5 separate regions of the Homo sapiens genome follow, and regions 2, 3, 4 and 5 are each linked to region 1. The links are contacts of gene promoters, found by promoter capture Hi-C in blood cells and fetal thymus (Javierre and others, 2016). All regions are on one chromosome and are shown on one strand. The core of a region is centred on a gene start or on the middle of the fragment in contact, and the rest is flanking DNA. Distances in the headings are between cores, read along the strand shown. Region 1 holds the start of CCDC66 (coiled-coil domain containing 66). Region 2 has its middle 17 kb from the start of ARHGEF3-AS1. Region 3 has its middle 50 kb from the start of ARHGEF3-AS1. Region 4 has its middle 52 kb from the start of SPATA12. Region 5 has its middle 48 kb from the start of ARHGEF3-AS1.

What was found. Contacts are between HindIII fragments. The CHiCAGO score rates a contact against its expected background, and 5 or more counts as called.
Region 2: a contact is called between a fragment that was not itself captured here and the fragment with the promoter of CCDC66 in region 1, in 4 of 17 cell types (naive CD4 T cells, total CD4 T cells, total CD8 T cells and 1 more). The highest score is 9.2, in naive CD4 T cells.
Region 3: a contact is called between a fragment that was not itself captured here and the fragment with the promoter of CCDC66 in region 1, in 1 of 17 cell types (naive CD8 T cells). The highest score is 5.0, in naive CD8 T cells.
Region 4: a fragment that was not itself captured here is called in contact with the fragment with the promoter of CCDC66 in region 1 in 1 of 17 cell types (activated CD4 T cells); the score reaches 5.8 in activated CD4 T cells.
Region 5: a contact is called between a fragment that was not itself captured here and the fragment with the promoter of CCDC66 in region 1, in 9 of 17 cell types (total CD4 T cells, naive CD8 T cells, naive CD4 T cells and 6 more). The highest score is 14.4, in total CD4 T cells.

The regions. Positions count from the first base shown.
Region 1 is chr3:56,555,832-56,558,531 of GRCh38, forward strand. It overlaps CCDC66 (coiled-coil domain containing 66), which reads left to right and starts at 1,344. Exons shown (of 18, transcript NM_001141947.3): 1 at 1,344-1,422. The coding sequence starts at 1,412. RefSeq lists enhancers at 787-1,459, 1,460-2,131, 1,600-1,759. The HindIII fragment of the contact is 1,896 bases long and covers 1,130-2,700 here.
Region 2 is chr3:56,921,383-56,924,093 of GRCh38, forward strand. It overlaps a transcript of ARHGEF3 not described here. Among named protein-coding and RNA genes, the nearest start is that of ARHGEF3-AS1, 17 kb to the right of the region's middle. The HindIII fragment of the contact is 5,814 bases long and covers 1-2,711 here.
Region 3 is chr3:56,888,632-56,891,331 of GRCh38, forward strand. It overlaps a transcript of ARHGEF3 not described here. Among named protein-coding and RNA genes, the nearest start is that of ARHGEF3-AS1, 50 kb to the right of the region's middle. The HindIII fragment of the contact is 835 bases long and covers 877-1,711 here.
Region 4 is chr3:57,007,392-57,010,097 of GRCh38, forward strand. It overlaps a transcript of ARHGEF3 not described here. Among named protein-coding and RNA genes, the nearest start is that of SPATA12, 52 kb to the right of the region's middle. RefSeq lists an enhancer at 190-484. The HindIII fragment of the contact is 4,420 bases long and covers 1-2,706 here.
Region 5 is chr3:56,986,842-56,989,541 of GRCh38, forward strand. It overlaps a transcript of ARHGEF3 not described here. Among named protein-coding and RNA genes, the nearest start is that of ARHGEF3-AS1, 48 kb to the left of the region's middle. The HindIII fragment of the contact is 9,338 bases long and covers 1-2,700 here.

The DNA.
Region 1 (2,700 bases), core at 94-2,593:
CCATAGAATTACCATGTGACCCAGTAATTCCACTCTTAGGTGTATACCAAGAAAATTGAAAATAGGGATTCAAACAGATACTTGTACATCAGTGTTCACTACAGCATTATTCACAATAACTAAAAGATGGAAACAACCCAAATGTCTATTAATGGATGAATGAGTAAACGAATTGTGGTATATATATACATAGAATGGAATACTATTCAATCATAAACAGATATGAAGCTCTGATACATCCTACAACATGGATGCACCTTGAATACATTATGTTACTTGAGAGAAGACACAAAAGGACAAATATTGTATGATTCCACTTTTATGACATGAAGTATCTATAATAGGCAAATTCCTAGAGACAGAAATAAGATTAGAGGTTTCTTAGGATTGAGGGGAGAGGAAAATGGGAAGTTGTTGCTTAATGGGTACAGAATTTTTATTTGGGGGTACTAAAAAGCTTTTGGAAAAATATACTGGCGTATTCCACAACATTGTATCATGGAATTGTCACTTGAAAATGGCTAAAAATAGCAAATTTTAACACACATATTACAACAATAAAAAATAAAAAAGTAAAGGTTTGTCAGGCATTTAATAATTAATACCTTTCATTGTTTTTGTCTGGAAAGAGTGTGTGCAAAGATACTTAACAACCAAATGTAATGTGTGATCCTTGATCGGCTCTTGCATTTTTTTTTTTTTTTTTTGAGACGGAGTCTCACTCTGTCGCCCAAGCTGCTGGAATGCAGTGGCGCGATTGGCTCTTGCTTTCTAAATAAAATGCCTATAAGATATTCTTAGGACAAGTGGGGGAAATTAAATCGGGAAGAGAATTATTATGAAATTAATGATCTTAGGTATAATAATTGTACTGCGGTTATGTAGCAGAACATCTATTCTTAGGAGATACATGCTGCAATGTTAAAGGGTTAAGTGTTACAATGTCTGCAATGTTAAAGGGTTAAGTGTTACAATGTCTGTAACTTACTTGCAAATGGTGACCCCAAAAAGGTGTGTGTGTGTGTGTGTGTGTGTGTGTGTGTGTGTGTGTGTGTGTGTGTGTGTGTGTGTGTCTGTGTACGCGCTTTGGAAGGCTACAATTGCGAGAAGCGCAGGTCTCCGCCACCGAAGCTTTAGACTCATAAGCCGGGTCAGGCCAAATTCCGCTGTGCGTAGGGGAACAAACGGCACAAACGGGGCACAAAAGGGGAACAAACGGCATACGCAACCGTCCCCGCGGGAGCCCCGGCCCAGCTCAGCGCACCCGCCAGCATGCCCCACCCTGATTGGTCCACTTGCTCAGCTCGCCGGCACCCCTATATCCAATTGGCGTAGCGCTTGCTGAGCGGCGGCGGCAACCGACGTACACAAGGGGCTTGAGCGTTCTGTGGAGAGAGTGCGAGGTCAGGCCATGAACTTGGGGTAAGCAGGGGTAAGCTGGGGTAAGCTGGGGTAAGCAAGGTGGTCGTCAGCGGAGAGGGAGGCATGTGTGTCTGGGTTGTCCCTTGGAGTCTTTACTGGAGAACGTTCCCAACCTGCGCCGCCGAGAGGGGCAGAGCCCAGTTCTCGGGTAGAAGATCGAGGCAGATGGGTCGGCCCTTAGCGACTCCACAGACCTTACGTTTTCACTTAATGACTAGCATTAAAACTGCCAGTGATCCCCTTTCGGTCCCTTATTTACCTCAGGATGAGGAGGGAAGAGAGGTGAGGAGGAAAGGAGAGAAATGACGAGACAGTTAGAGGAAGCGTGGCGGCTCCTGGGGAGGACTCCTGGCCCATGCCCCGGGTTCTTCGCCACCTTGTTTTTGGAGTCTTGCAGAATGTTGAAACGCCCAAATTCGTTTTAGGCCCACGAGGCGGGGAACCAGGCTTCTCAAGAAATCGATGTAGTACCAGTGCCTAACACCTAGTAGGCGCTCCTTAAGTAGGGGTGAATAAATAAAAAGGGCTGGTGCATGGTCTTCATCACTCGCAAGTTTGATATTTTGAGAAGATGAGAAGCCACCAAACTCAGACCTAACTACACATCGTTCAGCAAATGTTATTATGTTTTAGAATCTGGGGATATGGAAATAAATAAGATAGTGTGTCCCTTAAGGAGATTACAGTGCAGTGCGTCATTGAAGGTACTTTACCATTGAAGCTCTTTTCTTTCTTGGTGACGTTTCACCAACATAAACACGAACTGTTCATAACCCTACAATAAGGAAAGCCGTAAAACCTATTCTTTCCAGTGTTTTACCTTTAATAGTTAAGGTGAGGTAATTTGATTTCCCCTACCTGAGCAACACCGCAAATTTCGCATTCCTAATCAGACCTTTCCCAGCCTCTCTCTCCCTTGACTGGCTTGCTGGATTTAATTTTCTCTCTCTGAATTATGGACTGTATGTATGGGCTGCCATTTTTGTTCTCAGTGGAGTTTTAGGACCTTAACAGACGTTCAAGTTTTGTTGGCAGTGGCTACTGTTACTTTATGCCTTTGCTTCTGATATGCACGTATAAAGCACCATACTAAATATCACTATGTATTATTTGAAATATTGAAAGTGGTACTCTTTGCTCAAGCAGTTACTAACCTTGATGGCATTGTTAGTAGTCATATCGATGCTCCAGCACTCCATAGAATGTTTTAGTCATGAGTTCATTATGAAACTAATGAATGGCGGTTAAATATATCTTGTTCCTTTAACTTATGTGAGG
Region 2 (2,711 bases), core at 170-2,669, 370 kb after region 1:
AGGAAAAACAAAAATTCAAAAACAAATTCAGGTAACACTAAGGAAAAACAAAATTTGGGTGTTACTAGGTTATCAGGGAGGCATAAAGCACAGCAAGCCAGTGAGAAATAAAAAGAATATCAAATTAGAGCCTGAGAGTTGCTCACAGTCATGCACTTTTATTGAATGTCTTTATCTACTCCTCAAAGCTGGAAGGGTGGTTAATCCAAGTAAAACCTGAACAATTCCTCTGCCTGCTTCACCATGAACTCTAGACAAATGGAGCAGCGGTGTCCAGACACTTTCCCAGGCCAAGGCCTATTGGACTCAAGGTGGTTCAACTCAAGAGACTGTGAACATTTGAAAATGTTGATGCTCTTGGAGAGCCCTGCTTAGTATCCCAGCTCAACAAGATTATAAAATGATGAGAAGAATGTGGGAGCAGACCTGGCTGCTCAAGGTCAAGAATGAATAAATAGAAAAGTCTTCATCTATGGTTTCAACACAGGAACTAAAAATAAATGATGCTGGAACATGGAAGTCTCAACGATTGCTAGTCATGGCTAATCTTGAGTGCTTATCTTACTGGTTTTGTTACAAGCAATCGCCTGAGCTCTGTCTTTATTCTCTCTAAACAAATCTGAACTTTTATAACCAGATTCCTCACATTATTTTGGCAACTGATACATGGGCAGCTATTTTTAAAAGTGAATGCAAAAAAAAAAAAGGAAAGCTGATGTATGCTGTGAAGCAGCCACCGGCCTGGCCGCTGCGGTTCTGCCTCCTTGACTAACACAAGAAGCAAGGGCCACCTGAAGAATTTCTGCATGAAGCACACAGGGGCCGCTTGCAAATAAGCTCATCCAGTTTATTTCTTAGAAACATAAACACCCTGGGTGCAGCTTTTTCAAGAAACTGTCAAGTCTCCTTCCTTACACTGTCAGTTAAAAGTGAAACTCCTGTCTGTGGGTTACTGACCTCTGCACAATTTTTAGGAAGAAAAAAAAGTTTAAAAACTGATTAGCTGATATCTATCAGCCAAAGGGCTTCCTTACTTGGAAATGAGACTTACTATTTGGCATTGCACTGTCAAAGTTGGTTGGAAGTGGAAAATCTGAATATGGGGGTGGGAGGGAGGGGTATTTCTGACACTTACATGAATACTCAGGAGGATTTTTAAAAGTAATCTGCCTAGATCAAAAAACAATGCTTGACACACCGAATTTCCAAGTTAAAAATATATAACAAAAGCAAGAATCATTCTTATTAAAAAGTTTCTCACCATTATTTTGACTTCAGATAACTCTTTAGGGATAATTTCTGGGAAAAACCATCTGGCTGGAATAGTTAACAATAAATTAATATTTGGGCTCTGTGATTTTTGGCTCTGCCATTTACTAGTTGAATGACCTGGTAAGTCACTCTTAATTTCCTTGATCTTTAGTTTCCTTATCTGTAAAACAGGAATGACTCCTTTATCCCTAGCAGGTTGCAGGGAGGATGGTAGGATACTAACTGACATATGTATTTAAAAGCAGAACAGCCTGGGTGCAGTGGCTCACGCCTGTAATCCCAACACTTTGGGAAGCGTAGGCGGAAGGATCAGCTGAGGTCAGGAGTTCAAGACCAGCTTGGCCAAAATGGCAAAACCCCATCTCTACTAAATATATATATATATATATATATATATATATATATATATATATATATATATAAATTAGTTGGGCATGGTGGCGTGTGCCTATAATACCAGCTACTCGGGAAGCTGGGACAGGAGAATCACTTGAACCCAGGAGGCAGAGGTTGCAGTGAGCCAAGATCGTGCCACTCCAGCCTGGGCAACAGAGCAAGACTCCGTCTCAAAAAAAGAAGCAGAACAATGGATGATGGGAACTTTGGGCCATCATACTATTGTTTCTATTTTTGTATAGGTTTTAATTTTTCCATAATAAAATATTTTTTAAAAGACAAAGGCACAGTAATAATTTATTTTTTTTCAAACAGAAGAGGAAATTTTTTGGTGTAACGATGGAAACTGGTTCAAATTTTCCTCCTAGCAAATTGAAAAGCAGTACCAAATCTGAAATCCAGAGTTTGATTTTTCTATCCTGATTTGACTGTCAACTGGGCATCTAAGAAAAAGGTAATAGAAACTAGCAGTTTCCCATTTCCCTTCTTCCTTCCAATAGAGAAAAAAAATGAGAGCATAGTTAAAACTTAAGTCATATTTATTTTTTTAATCTTACAATGCTGACTTCCCTGAAATCCCTGTATCCATCTAGAAAGTTCAAGACTTTTATGAAAATACCCCCAAGAAACCAAGAGATTTAAAAGCATGTGTGTCCCATGACTCAGAGTGTTCATTCTGCCTAAACACCAGTGAAAGTGGTTTTTTGTTTTGTTATGTTTTGGGTGTGTTCATGTGTACATGAAGAATTGGTATTGCCACTTTTTCTCCCTTAATTCAGAATCAGAAAGGAATCACCAAAACACTGGAAAATAGCAAACCAAATGAGACAGGTGGAAAGGGCTTCCAACTCTCACCCAAGGTAACTGGTCCTGGTTGGAAGCTCAGCACCTCCTCCCAGTTAGGGCTCTGCCCTGGAGGCTGTCCCTTTAAGTCAGACTTCCTGGTAAGGCTGAGAGATTTCCGCATGCAGCTTCCTGGAGACCGTATAAGATAAACAATAAACTTTGCAACAAAATCATGGACAATAAGCCCCACGTGGCTG
Region 3 (2,700 bases), core at 44-2,543, 330 kb after region 1:
GTGGCTCACGCCTGTAATTCCAGCACATTGGGAGGCCGAGGCAGTTGGATCACCTGCGGTCAGGAGTTCCAGACCAGCCTGGCCAATATGGTGAAACCCCGTCTCTACTAAAAATGTAAAAATTAGCTGGGCATGATTGTGTGCACCTGTAATCTCAGCTACTTGGGAGGCTGAGGCAGGAGAATCGCTTGAACCTGGGAGACGGAGGTTGCGGTGAGCCGAGATCGCACCATTGCACTCCAGCCTGGGCAATAAGAACGAAACTCCATCTCAAAAAAAAACAAAAACAAAAACAAAAAACAAAAATGACCAGGGGGTCCCTTTGCTAATTTGCAATAGAGCAAAGTCCTGTGCATATTCCAATGGGAGGTCTCATGGAGATATGGGTATTCCTGGAAGGATCAAGTGAACATTGCCAGAGACTCGTTACTGCCTCTGCTTGAGAGATCCTGCTAGCTTGACCTTCACCTGAACCTTTCGACCCACTTTCACAAACATTATTGTTTCCAGGACACTCTGTGGCTATCTCTTTTTAGGGTTGGCTACCTTCTGATATCACAAGGCAGACATCTGAATCTCATCGGTAAATAACCCATGAACAAACTGCCTTTTCGGTTGTCCTGGGGAAGATTCTCTGTGAAAAGCACTGATCCTATCCTTACCCGACAACAGATTCTCAGAAGAGCTGGCCGTGGTCCAAGCCTGAATAGCGTGTCCTTACCTGGCTTAACTTCCATCCTCTCCAGACCTCCTTTGAGGTTTTGAGAAAATCACCAGGTGCCTTCCAATACAAAAGTGGAGGGAAACAGACGCTGGAATTGGGCACCTACTATGAGCCAAGGACTATGCTCTCAGTTTAATGGATTGTGCCATTTAAGCTTCTCCTCAGCCCGGTTTAAGTAAGCCTTGTGGTGTTCATTTTAACAGAGAGGAACGCTGAAGCTCAGGAAGGTTTTAGTAACTTGCTCAAGGTCACAAAGTGAGTGAGTGCTGGAGAGAGGATTTTCTGGAGGCCACCCTGACTGCCAAACCACTGACCTCTCTGCATATGATGCTATTTCTCTTTGTACATTGTTTAAAAACAATCTGCGTTTCCTTTAAATTAATACATACAAATAAGGTAAAATACATTTAAATATTTGTTTCATGGCTGGGCGCAGTGGCTCATGCTTGTAATCCCAGCACTTTGGGAGGCCGAGATGGGCGGATCACCTGAGGTCAGGAGTTTGAGACCAGCCTGGCCAACATGGTGAAACCTCATCTCTACTAAAAATACAAAAATTAGCTGAGCGTGGTAGCGTGCGCCTGTAATCATAGCTATCCAGAAGGCTGAGGCAGGAGAATCGCTGGAACCCAGGAGGCAGAGGCTGCAGTGAGCCAAGGTCGCACCACTGCACTCCAGCCTGGGTGACAGAGCAAGACTCCTTCTCAATAAATAAATAAATAAATACATAAATAATTGTTTAAAATCATATGTGTTTTAAAACAATATAAAAAGACCCACAAGGCATTTACCTACATACCTCAAAGAAACTAAGAGCATAAATGAGACAGTTCAAAATGCAGCTCCACCTTTGCTACTTGGTGTGACCTTGGGCAAATTACTTCTCTATTCCTTCATTCACTCAACAAATATTTACTGAGCATTTACTATGTGCCAGGCAGGTTCTAAGTGTATGGGATACGTCAGTGTCTATAAAGCAGTTCTATAAGCTTTGGTTTTCTCCATCATGGGGTTATTTCAAGTATTAAAAGAAATAAAATATTTCGAACAGAGCCAGACATATGGCAAGAGATTTGAAAAATGTAATTATTATTGCTACTGCGGTTATTACCGTAATTACTATTACTACTGCTGTCACTGCTGGCATAATTATTTTGTTGTTATTTGATGTTGAGAGTCAGGCAGGGAGGGTATTAGAGATGGCAGGATCCTGCAGAATGATGGGCAGGAGACCTGGTACGCTGCCTGACTCTTTCTAACTACCCAGGTCCCAGAGGACTATCCACAAACACTCTCAGGATACCTTCAGTCACATTTGCACTGTGTCGTTCCCACTTCTTTCACAGAGACAAGGGCTACTGCAAGCCTGACTTAATTTTAAATGGCCAAGATTGAACTGATTAGTGTCAGAACAACCCTGTTATTTAATCACTGGGCTTTTCTATTTAATAACCAGGTGACCAGAGCAGCAAAAACGTACTGATTGAGAGAGTGCAGCTCCTGACTTGGCAGCAAATAGTCCCTGATTAGTCATTTGTAATTATTAAATTCAAACCAGATCTCGAACCTTTTTGATTTATCTCTTTGCTGGCAAACAACTTTGGTGGTTTCAGAGGCTTTGATGCCTTGCCTTTCATCTGCTCTTTCTTTGCGGAAAGATTAGCAAAAGGATTTTGTGTTCTTGTACTTGCCCTTAGCTGGAACTTGACTTGCTAAATTCACGTTTTAGCAGGGAGAGGATCCACATTTTGTTCTTCTCCAGTCTGAAGCTCCAGAAGTGAATGAGAGAATTGAAAGAAGGAGCACCAACTCCATTTTTAAAAAGTAAAAAAAAAAAAAAAAAATAGAGACGAGATCTCCCTATGTCTTGCAGGCTGGTCTCAAACTTCTGAGCTCAAGCAATCCTCTCGCCTCCACCTCCCAATGTGCTGGGATTACAGGTGTGACCCACCGTGCCTGGCCCCTACTCCATTTTT
Region 4 (2,706 bases), core at 44-2,543, 450 kb after region 1:
TGAGCTGGAATTGATTTTGTTTATTCCAAAATCAGGCTTGGAAAGTGAGAATTTGGTCTTCCAGGTGAAAACAGGCAGGCATCTTGGTTTTCTGCAGAACCTCCTATTTTTAAAATTGGGTTGCTCACAGGGGATGGATGCTTTGACCCGAACACACAATGTTTTTCAAAAACAGAGGCCATGCCTGCAGTGTTGCGCCCGCCCCTCCACATTTACCACCACACTCAGCCTCTTCCTAGCCGACCAGGGACGGGTGAGTTCCGGGAACTCTGCTGCTCATGAGTCACCCTCCAGGGGCCTGACAACTGCTCCTGGATCCTGATCAGTTTTCTTCAAGAGACTGGCTTTGGTGTTTAGGGCTCACGCTGCAATAGCTTGCAAAAATAAAACTTCTCTCCTTATTACGAGCAGAGTGAGCAAGCACATGAGAACACAAGAATCAAACCCTGCCCCTCTCCTCCTGCATAACAGGAAACATTCATTTCTGAGCCCCTAGGTCAGGCTATCATTTGGCAGCTCAACTATTTTAGCAAAGGCAAGTTTCTCATCACCTTTTCCCGGCAGGGCTGCTTAGCTGGGCACCTTGGGTTTGTGCCATGGTCCAGGGGCAGTCTGGACTTTCCTGGCCAGAGGACAAAGCTGGATTGGCCTAACACCACGAGAATTTTTCTAGCCTGCTTTGTGCTCTGCTGAGATCTCCAAAATATATTAACCGTGTAGATCCTTGGGCAGAAAATTCTCTGTTGAGCCACGCTACATGTACTTTCCTAGAACAGATCAAACTTCAGCAAAATTAAATCTGTGAGCTTTTCAGTATGATTAATCCCTAGGAGGTGGCCCTGCCAAGAATAGCCTTGTCTGGAAACGTGTGAGCCTTTTTGGCTCAACCGAGAATGAAGACCACGCTCACGCTTCCTGGGGCTCCTGTGGTCACTCTGCTAGCTCCACAGAGCAGTTTGGATGACCCCTTTACCTGCAATAAAACTCCACGTAACAGCCCGCTTGCCAAACAGAAACACACTGTCTGGATGGAATTGGAAGAAATAGATCTGCAGTGGGAGCTCCAGAGAGCTGGATTCCACGGACAAGCCTTTTTTTTTTTTGAGACAGAGACTCACTCTGTTACCCAGGCTGGAGCGCAGTAGCGTGATCTTGGCTCACAGCAACTTCTGTCTCCCAGGTTCAAGCAATTCTCCTGCCTCAGCCTCCCAAGTAGCTGGGATTATAGGCAATTACACCCAGCTAATTTTTGTTATGTTTAGTAGAGACGGGGTTTCTCCATGTTGGCCAGGCCGGTCTTGAACTCCTGGCCTCATCTGATCCACCCACCTCAGCCTCCCAAAGTGCTGGGATTACAGGCATGAGTCACTGTACCAGGCCCTGTCATTTTTCTCTGGACCTCTGTTTCCGCATCTGTAAACCCTAGGGGCACAAGCACAGCATCTCTCAAGTCCCTTGCAAGCTGGTGGATTTTCAATTCCAGCTCAAAAATATATTTAAAAGAATTTTTTTCAATGAATTGCCAACATTTCAAAGTCCAGATGGCTCTCATGAGAATTGGGAAGTTTTACATTAAGATTCCAATTTCTACATGATCTTGGGAAATTGGCAGATCTGGCCCCATGGGCTAGCATTCTCAACAGGAGGCAGGAACCAGGATGGGCCATGAGTTCCTGGGAAACAGAATGCATGGCCCAAGCCATTGCTCTCATTTTCATGATGGGCTGGCCCTGTGAGCCTCAAGTTTGAGGCTCCCATTCTGAGGTCCGGCTCCTCCCCACCCCTGCCCTTTAACATATTGCTTAAACTTTTTCACTTTTCATTTCAGCTGAACGCTCAAGAATGAACTATGAAATCAAAATTTTTTATTTAAAAAAAATAGTACCAAAAAATCTGTTAAGTGGAGATCCACCAACTTGGGGCCTATCCCCCAGCCTGCCTGCAATTCTGACACTGCTCATGCAAGGAACCTAGAGCTACTTCTAAAGTTCCCCGGACCCTCTGACCTCTATGGGCTGTCTCGCACAACCCGCCACCCCTTATCCCAGTCCCTCAGCCCCTCAGCCAAGAATCCATGTTTGGGACCCATGACAGTGAGGCTAGAGGCGGGTGGATCTCTGAGCGGGGTGGTAGCTACATCTGCATTTTATCAGCCTGCTGGACAGGCCAGGATGTGAAGGGTGGCTGCAGGCCTGCCAAGTTGCTGGAGGAGATTAAACAAAAAGTGAGCCACACTGCTGCGGGAAACAAATGAGAGTGCGTGGAGAAGACTCCCAGCACACCCAGTGTGTGTCTGTGTGATGGAATGCCAGGGTAAGAAGATGGGACCTTGTTCCACATCTCTTTAAAGGAACCACACAAGCCAAGAGACACAGGATGGAATCTCAGTTCTCAAACCAGCCCATCTCATTGGAGGTGGTAATAATAATCATGTTATGATTAATTAATAATAATAATAGTGAGCAGCAACACAGCATGACAGCTAACATTTAGTAAGCTCTTACTCTGTGCAAAGCATGGGTATTCTCGTCATACCCATTTTAAAGATGATGAAACAGAGGCACAGCAAGGCCATGAACTCAAACAAAGTCACACCGCAGCAAGTGGTGGAGCAGGAACTGGACCACAGGCAGCTGCCTTCTGAGCCCGGGCTTCTGACCTCAGGGCTTTCTCCTGTCTCTTTTTAACATGCAGGCGCCACAGCAC
Region 5 (2,700 bases), core at 63-2,562, 430 kb after region 1:
GGAGTGATGGTCATAATCTTAATAGTAATGATGGTCCATGGATATTGAATCCTTACTGCGGGTGAAGTGATGTTTAAAACACTTTGGAGGCCGGGTGTGATGGCTCATGCCTGTAATCCCAACACCTTGGGAGGCCATGATGGGAGGATCACATGAGGCCAGGAGTTCGAGACCTGCCTGGGTAAGATGGCAAAACCCCATCTCTACAAAAATTGAAAAAATTAGCTGGGCATGGTGATGCATGCCTGTAGTCCCAGCTACTAGGAAGGCTAAGATGGGAGGATCCTTTGAGCCCAAGAGGTCAAAGCTGCAGTGAGCTGTGATCGTCCCACTATACTCCAGCCTGGGTGATGGAGTGAGACCCTGACTCAGAAAACAAACAAACAAGTAACTCTGGGTTGCCAACGCCTCATTATAGTCCATACTTTCTGGACAGATTCTGTTAACATCACCATCTTGCAGATGAGGAATCTGGGGCATAATCATGTGCCGGCCACAGGGAGAGCAGAGCTCTGACTTCAGGGCTCCCCCTCTTTGTCTCTCAACTGTTACCAGCACCAGCACTGGGCTGAGCTCTGGGCAATGCAACGGCTGAGCAGGAGTAGGAGGGAAGTGTTTGGCACAGGAGGCTCCAGGCCCAATCTGCAGGCAGGAGGGAAGGAGCTGCTGGAAAGAGAAACAGAAGATGAAAGGGACTCTGGGGACGGGGTGATGAACACTCCTGGGCATGCCCTTAGCTAAGAGCCACTACACTGGGGTTTTGCTGAGAGCTTCTCAGCAGCAGAAACCTTGGGTCAAGCCCAATCCTACATAAACCTGGTAGAAGCAGAGTTGATCTAGAAGGAAGGAAAGGAAGGAGCCAGCCCCACTAACCTCACTCCCCCTACCGTGCACAGCCAATCCTGCAGCCACTAAGAGACCACCTCAGGAACATGGACACCTCAGGGCCTCCACTCACAGCGTATGCTCTCTGAGGGCTGGCTGGCTTTCTCTTCCTTTTCAATTTTCAAGTATTTGATTAACACATTCAAAACTAAAATAATTAAAATTAGCCAGAGATGCACTGTGTCTTGTGTGCACACCACTGGCTTACCACCTGATGTCCAGAGCATAAATGGGACTCCACAAATGGGTGACAGACAGGTATGGGCAACAGCTCTGAGGGGTCAACCTGGCTCCTCCTTCACCTGCTAAGTGACCCTCAGCAAGTACCTGACCCTCACAAAACCTCAGAAGTTCCAGCAGTTCCCCACCTCTTGGGACTTTAAGAGGGTTGTTTTGTTTTCTTTGGTTTTGTGTTTTGTTTTTGTTTGTTTGTTTTGAGATGGAGTCTCACTCTGTCGCCCAGGCAGGGGAGTGCAGTGGCGCGATCTTGGCTCACTGCAACCTTCGCCTCCCAGGTTCAAGTGATTCTCCTGCCTCAGCCTCCTGAGTAGCTGGGACTACAGACGCACGCCACCATGCCCAGCTAATTTTTTTGTATTTGTAGTGGAGACGGGGTTTCACCATGTTGGTCAGGCTGGTCTTGAACTCCTAATCTCGTGATCCACCCGCTTCGGCCTCCCAAAGTGCTGCGATTACAGGCATGAGCCACCCCACCTGGCCTAAGAGAGTTAAATAAGCTAGTAGTCATAAAAGTGCCCAGCACATGATAAGAGCACAATAAATGTCACCTGTCATTATTATTAATAGCATCAACAAGATTAAAAGTATGTTGGCAGGGAGAGGAAGAATCCACAGGAAAGAATTAAAGTGTCCCCATGGGAAGCACAGTGCCCTGCATGTCCCAGTGTTGTTCCCTACTAGGACTGGCCAGTGAATGCTCTGGTTTTTGCAACTGTCTCTTTAATTTTTGTACCAAAGGGAGGCAGGGCCCAGACCATGGAGGTGTGAAGCTCACGAGTTTGGCAGGCTGGGCTCATCTGGAGCCCAGTATTAATTAATTGGTGTTTATGCAACAGTATGTGCCCATCTGGCCCCGTTTCTGTCTGAATCTTGTGCTCAGAACCTTGGAGAATGCATCTCCCTCATGACTTTTCTAGACTTTGATGCCCAGACAACAGCAGATGCGGGTGTTAAAATAATAGCACCAACACTGCAACTCTAAAAGGGGAAGGTACCCTCTTGAGGACTCAAAGTTAAATTACAAATAGCTGGAAGACAATTTTTTCCAGGGCTCCTGCAGCCACTGAACGTTTCCAAGGAGAAAGACAGCACCGATTGTGAGTGAAGAGTGCCCTCTGCTGGCCGGTATTAGAAAACTTCAGTTGATTACTTCGTCCATGCCTCCCGGAGGGCTCCAGCTCCGCTGCCGGGTGGCAAGTCTCAAGTACCCTATTTAGTTCTTTTTTAAAATCTGAACTGAAAACAAAAAGTCTTCTTTTCCTAAAAGGATAAGAGATGAAAGAAAGGACAAGGTCAAGGAGCATTTTATTCCACTCCTCGCTTGCGTTTTTTTTTTGCTGGTGCACTAGAAATGGCCCTGTGGATGCTGTAGCGTGACATCTGCCTCAGAGAATACAAGTAACTTGGGGAGAGCAATCAAGTGTCCACAGGTGGCCCACAGCAGTGCCCCATTTCCATTTTAAGAGGCTGTCCTCTTGACTAGACTCCAAAGTGTACAGAGAGACACTCCGAGCCAAAACTGCTGCTTCCTTGCAGAAAACCCCAGCAGGTCTGTGCCCAGGGGGCAGGGGGCTC